Linked DNA regions of Homo sapiens: region 2 is linked to region 1. The links are contacts of gene promoters, found by promoter capture Hi-C in blood cells and fetal thymus (Javierre and others, 2016). All regions are on one chromosome and are shown on one strand. The core of a region is centred on a gene start or on the middle of the fragment in contact, and the rest is flanking DNA. Distances in the headings are between cores, read along the strand shown.

Region 1 (3,573 bases), core at 461-2,960:
TTCTCTTTGGAGAATCAAAGACCTTTATTGTAGAGAAGCACCAGACTGTGTTATTACATATTTATTCTTGTAATTGAAAAATATTCATTCTCATTTTCTGAACGATTTTGTTTCTTAGTCGAATATGAGCTGTTTAGGAGGTATTAAACATTTGTTCATTTCTTTATATACTTACTTATTCCCTTATCCAGAGGGAGAAGGCAAAGTATGTATTGTGTTACCCCATTTTTCTTGTTTCTGAAATCAAATTAGTTGCTTCCTAAATTTTCATTAGGAATAATCCTTGGCCGGATGGGGTGGCACATGCCTGTAATCCTAGCACTTTGGGAGACTGAGGTGGGAGGATCACCTGAGGTCAGGAGTTCGAGACCAGCCTGGCCAACATGGCGAAACCCCGTCTCTACTGAAAATACAAAAAAAAAAAAAAAAAAATGCCAGGCACAGTGGAGCGTGCCTGTAGTATCAGCTACTTGGGGGGCTGAGGCAGGATAATCACTTGAACCTGGGAGGCAGAGGTTGCAGTGAGCAGAGATTGTGCCACTGCACTCCAGCCTGGGCGACAGAGTGAGAATCCGTCTCAGAAAAAAAAAAAAAAAAAGGAATGATCTTTATGCAGTCAAATTTCATGACACAGTTTTTCCAAATGACTAACTTACTTCAGAAAAGAGAATTATTTAGTCCAATAATTTGATAAATTGTTCCTCACTTGCATATATAAAGAAAGTTGTATAATCTTTTCCTGACATTTTAAAGAATAAAATAGATTTTATCTTGATAGAGTTAGTAATGTATGGGATAAGTACCCATACATTACTAATGTATTATATTATATTATACTACTTGTGGCATAGGGCATTCTGCTACTTTCCAGTGACCATTTTCTCCCCATCTCTCTTCTCTTTCCAGTCTCTATCCTTCTTACTCTCATTGCCTTTTCTTCTCTCCGTGTTTCCCTTAGTCTTGGACTTTCTAGGATGTCTAGCAGATAAATCTCTCACTTCTAGACCATATGTCCCCTACCCCCTCCCTTTTTTTTTAAGAGACAAGGTCTTGCCATGTTGCCTAGGCTGACCTCAAACTCTTGGGCTAAGCTATCCTCCTGCTTTAGCCTCTTGAGTAGCTAGGACTATAGATACATATCCCTATGCCTGGCTGGGACCAGATGGCCTTTCTGAATCCTTTCTAGTAGGTGATTCTCTCTCCTGGAGAAACTCTTTCCTTAAAGCTTGCTTTTTTTTTTTTTTTTTTTGCCAACCCTCAGAGCAGACAATCTATCTATAAAGTCAGATTTGAGTGGAGAATTAAAGGAATTATCTGAATAATTAAAACAAGAACACTAATATCTTTGAAAAGGCTATTTAAGACTTAATGATGCCTACAACCATTTACTTGTTAAAGTCTACTTAAATATTTATTCTACATTGCTAGCGCTCCAGACATACATGCATATCTTATTAGTGGATTCATTCAAAATATTCACACACATGGAATAAACTCAAGAACATAATAACTCCTAAATAGGCTTTGATCAGAAAAAATACCATTTTCAAGGAACAGAAAACCAGTTTGAATATAACAATCATAAATTTGGTTCCTACCTGACACATACTCTGTGAGGAGCTTCTGCAACAGTGGTACATTTTCAAGATAAAGTTCTAAGTTCTAGTTCTAAGAGGCAGTGTCCATCCACTCAGGTCTACAGGCTCTGTGTGCATCCATATGCATAGGGATGTCTATATATAGGCTATGTAAGACAGTGGACAAATTACCTTTCTGTCAGCTTTAATAATTAACTCTCATTAACTTTTACAACAATGAAAAGACTGCAATGTGGTCTTGACCTTTGAGACTTTGATCAGCAGAAGTGATGATGAAGATTGCTTCCTCAAGTTCCTTGTGAGATTAAACCACCAGTGGGTGGTTTAATGCACTTGTGTGTACGTAATTTCATTGGTTTGCAGAGATTGCACAGCAGATGCTCACGTGTACTTAAAAAAAAAAAGAATCTTCTCAAGGGTTATCTCCTTGACATTTCACCAACCTGTTTAGATGAGAGTTTAGTGGTGGTGTTTTTTGGCTGGATGACTCCATGGAATCTGTCATGGGCTGCAGAAGTGTGGTGTATAGGTTAACTCCTGGTATGATAAAGGCCCTCATTAGGAACACTCACCCAACTCCCAGCCACAGGCCATATCTGCATTCCAATTTCTGCCCCCACCACAGCTCTTCCTAAGAGCAATAAACCCTATGTTGCTAAACACAATGAATACTTTCAACTCTCATCTTACTTAAAAGCATTTGGCATTGCTGACTACACTTTCATGAACTCCTCTTTTTATTTTAAAAATTATTTAACTAATTAGTTAATTTTAGAGATGGGGTATTGCTGTGTTGCCCGGGCTGGTCTCAAACTCCTGGCCTGAAGTGATCCTCCTGCTTTAACCTCCTGAGTAGCTGGGATTAGAGGCCTCAGCCATCATGCCGGGCTAAAATCTTCTCTTCTTGAAATGCTAAAAAAAAATTTTTAACACACTTGTTTTTCACCTCATCCTTTTTGCCAATTTCTCCTCTAACTCTTTCTTTGGCATTTCCTAAGATTCTGTTCTGAATTTCCTTCTCCTCTCTTGCTACCCTCTTACCCTAAATAAGAGTCCTATGGCTCCCAGCAACATTCAGATTTCTAACCCCAGCTCTCTAGGTCCACATATTTAACTGCCTATTCCACATCTTTGCTTGGATGCCTCATAGGCATCTCAAACACGACACATATCGAGATTAAGACCTCTTGATCTTTCCTCCCAAATCTGCTCCATCTCTAGTCTTCCCCATTTCAGTAAAGAATATTCCCCTTTACTCATGTCAGAGACCTGGGAACCATCTCTGACACTTCTTCTTGCAGACCTTCTCCCCACCCGCAGCCAATCCATCCTTAAACCCTATTGAGCATGCCTCCAAAATACATCCCAAAGCCATCACTTTTCTTCATCTTCACTCTTACCTTTGCTGCACTTCTTGCTTCCTCTCGCAGCCCTCCCCATCTCTTTACCACTCATTAATCAGAATGATCTTTTCACACTAGTCCTCTTTGTGGGGCTGATGATTACACAGAGGGAAAACAGGCCTCCAAAGTCTTTGCATGATCTCCCCCTGCACAACTCTCCAACCTCATCTGACTCTGCTCTTACTTTTGTTTTCTCCACTCCCACCATGGTGGCCTCCTGTAGTCCCAAATTTGCCCACTCTTTGCAGACATCATTTTCTCTGCTTAAATGCACTTCTCTCTCTCTCTCGGTTTGGCTGTTACTTAGCTTCAACATCACTTTCTCAAGGAGAACCACTTTGACTTCCTAATCTCAATTAGCCCCTCTTGTGGCATTCTCTCAGAGTATTTTTTTAAGTCCCTTGGTTAATTTGCATGTACTTTTTAAAACATAGCATCATAATTTAAAAATACACAATTATTTACTTGGCTAATGTTTGGCTTTCTCATTAGAATGAAAGCCCCACACAGGCAGGGACTTTGGCGAATTCACTGCTGTATGCCCAGTACCTAGAATGAATCTACCACAGAAC
Region 2 (3,573 bases), core at 558-3,057, 35 kb before region 1:
TACTTGATACCACTCTTAATAATGTTCCAGATTTATCTTATGCTCTACATTTCTTTTTCATTTTGACTAGAAATTCCTTTTTTGAGACCTTTCAACTAAGAGAAATACCACCAGCTGCCTGCCATGCTTGAAGACAATCATTAAATTCTTTCTCTGGTCCCTCAATCCGTTGTCTTTCACTAGAGGATAGAGATGGTGTACTAGAACAGAAGACAGGTCTTGTCATCAGAAAGATCTTAGTGCAGTCCTGTTGGGGTCACTTGGTATGTGACCTCAAGCAGATTAGTTAAGCTCTCTGAGCCTGTTTCCTTTTTTTTTTTTCATTTGGAAAATGAAGATATCTTCTTTGTATATTGTTATAAGGATTGAGATAATGAATGTAATACACCTGCCATCTACCTGGCCTACAGCAGAAACCCATTTTAATTTGTGATTCTACTTTTCCCAAACTAGAAACATTGCTTTAAAGGACTGAATGTTCTAGAAATGAACATCTACAATGAAATGGGACTCTCCAGTTAAATGCTGAATTGGCAACTCACTCTAGTAAGGAAGGATAGAAACTTGTTTCATTGCTTGACTGGGCACTGTGCTAGGGACTTCTCAAGCATCTGGCTATTGGGAGGTGTGTATTAGCTTATCATTTTCATTGCTAATTCACCTGTAAATGGAAAGAGCAATACCTTCCCTGCTACGTGGATTATTACAGGGCCAGAATAAGAGCATTGTTGTAAGTGGTTTGAAAAACAAAAGAAGATATGCTCAATATTGCATTAATGGAGATCTATTATCACTATTTTTTCATCCTGTTTTTGTACGGGTCTGAGTTTCTTTTCCTGAAAACTCCCTGTGAGATTGGTTAGCATTGCTTCAGTTTTCTAGGGATGAGGCACAGAGGCTCAAGCAAGTGCTGGACTTTCTGCCACATGCAGGAAGTGGCCTCACTACTTTGAAGGTTTTTTTTTGCTGTGATGTCTAGGTGAAGATAAACCTGTTGAAGAATCTTACCTCATATACCCGATTACGTAATCCTCCATTTGTATTTATGGTAAAATCAATTTTTCCATCTTTTTCCTGAGAAAAAGAGAATGGAAATATGGATTAGGGGCTGATTTTTTTTAATGTTGAAAAAGAGAAATTTAAGGAGTGCAGATGGCTGCTTATGCAATTGTGAAAGTCACCAAAGAGCTGATACCTGACTGGGATTAAACTTTGAAGTACTGTAATCTTTCTTCATCAAAATATGCAAAACAGCATCATGGATTGTTAAGAAAAATATTGAGCTTTTCACTTCACCATCAAAAAATTCATACCGGTTAAGCTTCTCAATGAAGTCATCTGAAGAGAAAAAAACAGTAACTTTTAGGAAGAAACAATTGTTTGGCTACCGGTTTCCCCTTGAGGCTAGTAATTTCACCTTCCATTTGCAAATGTGCGTTTCATTGACATTTGGTTAAGTGTGTGTGGGTTGCAGTGGTATAATACCAGTCTATCTTTAGTACAATGTCTTTTGGAACTAACAAATACCTTTCTAATAAAAAAAATTTAATGCCCTAATGTAAAAAGGAGGAAGGCAAAGGAGCAAATGAAAAACAGTAGTTCCTAGAAGAAAATTCATTTAGGCAGGAGCCTAGTGAATTGATCTCCCTGCTTAATGATTAGAGTATCAAGTGTGGCTTCTTATTAAAGTTTGGGATTCTGCCAAAATGGAACATATGTTTATGGACCAGTGATATGCTGTGGTTCTTTATTGTAGCCCATTTTCCCAAAGCTGCTGGGTTTTATGGGAAAACATCTTCCTTACCACTTACCTCTCTAATCATCTTTGAGAAATCCCATTTTTGTAGGCACTAAGCAGCATTCATTTACATAGATGACTCAACCAACTATTACCTTATGTCTGCCATGTGCAAAACTCTGGCTGAGTAATAAGAAAGATCAAAAGATAAATTAGACCTGAATCTTGCCCTCAAGGAAGATAGAACATTTATATATTCCTGTAGTACTGACAGAAAACGTGTGGTATAATAATGAGGGAAAGGAGCAATCTAGTTTTTTTCCTTTATTGTTTTCTTAGTTTTAAAAAAATTCCCAGCACATAGTATGTCTTCATATTTTTTGTTGAATATATGAGAGAGATATAGATCATGTACTATGAAAATTCTGAGAAATTTTCCTCTTGGTGGGTATCTGGGAAAACTTGAGCAGATACCGTCTAAACGTGCCTAGGATTTGCAGAAAAGTGGAGGAAGAGAAGGTACACAGTTATGAAGATGGATTCTTCTGTTTACAGAAAGCTTTCAGTGACAGAGGGAGAGGGAGCGTGGAGGGCATTGTGGCCACCAGGATCTGGGATGGAGTGGGTGGCATGCAATGGGAAGGAAGGTGATAATCTTTGATAAAGACTGAAAAGAATGCCAGGCAGCAGAGACAGCAGGAACAGATACTTTCCAAAATATCTGGGATGATGAGGAAAGGGTAAAATTGTTAGTAAATTAAAGGTTTCTGGGATCAAGGGGATGTTTTTAATTATAAGGAAGCCTTGACAATGGTTGAACTAATTTTCACTCCCACCAACAGTGTATAAGCACAGTGTGGCGATTCCTCACAGGGCTGAAGACAAAAATACCATTTGACCCAGCAATTCCATTACTGGATATATACCCAAAGGAATATAAATCATTCTTTTATAAAGACGCATGCATGCATACATTGATTGCTGCACTATTCACAATAGCAAAGACATGGACTCAAATGCCCATCAGTGATAGACTGGATAAAGAAAATGTGGTACATATACACCGTGGAATACTATATAAAAACATATAAAAAAATTAAAAAAAAACAATATCCTTTGCAGGTACATGGAGTTGGAGGCCATTATCCTTAGCAAAGTAATGCAGGAACAGAAAACCAAATACTGCATATTCTCACTTATAAGTGGGAGCTAAATGATGAGAACGTATGGACACATGGAGGGGAACAACCCACACTGGGGCCTATCGGAGGGTGAAGGGTGGGAGGAAGGAAAGGATCAGGAAAAGTAACTAATGGGTGCTAGGCTTAATATCTGGGTGACAAAATAATCTATACAATAAACCCCCATGACACGAGTTTACCTATGTAACAAACCTGCATGTGTACCCCTGAACTTAAAAGTTTTTTTTAAAAGTCTTGAAACTAGAATATGTCTGTATATTTTAGGGACAGGATCCAGTAGAAAGGGAGAGATTAAGGATGCCAATTTTATACTTTTCGAAGGATATGTGTACCACTTGTCTCCTCTCCCTAAAAAGCTCCCCCTAAGTACTGTCAAGGTTGACTGCCTCACTTCGTTCTAGTCTGTACTCAAAATGTCATATTGCTGGACATCCCTGATCACCAGTTTTTCTTTCTGCCTCCCTCCCTCCCTTCCTTCCTTCCTTTTTTCTCTTTCTTTCTTTCTTTCTTTCTTTCTTTCTTTCTTTCTTTCTTTCTTTCTCTTTTCTTTCTTTTTCTTTCTCTCTTTTTTCTTTCTTTCTTTCTTATTTCGTCTTTCTTCTTTCTTCTTTCTCTTTCTTTCTTTCTCTCTTT

What was found. Contacts are between HindIII fragments. The CHiCAGO score rates a contact against its expected background, and 5 or more counts as called.
Region 2: a contact is called between a fragment that was not itself captured here and the fragment with the promoter of SLC26A3 in region 1, in 1 of 17 cell types (erythroblasts). The highest score is 5.2, in erythroblasts.

The regions. Positions count from the first base shown.
Region 1 is chr7:107,801,513-107,805,085 of GRCh38, forward strand. It overlaps SLC26A3 (solute carrier family 26 member 3), which reads right to left and starts at 1,711. Exons shown (of 21, transcript NM_000111.3): 1 at 1,599-1,711. The HindIII fragment of the contact is 4,247 bases long and covers 1,224-3,573 here.
Region 2 is chr7:107,766,571-107,770,143 of GRCh38, forward strand. SLC26A3 (solute carrier family 26 member 3) reads right to left here. Exons shown (of 21, transcript NM_000111.3): 19 at 1,196-1,338; 20 at 1,009-1,074. Among named protein-coding and RNA genes, the nearest start is that of CBLL1-AS1, 24 kb to the left of the region's middle. The HindIII fragment of the contact is 976 bases long and covers 1,320-2,295 here.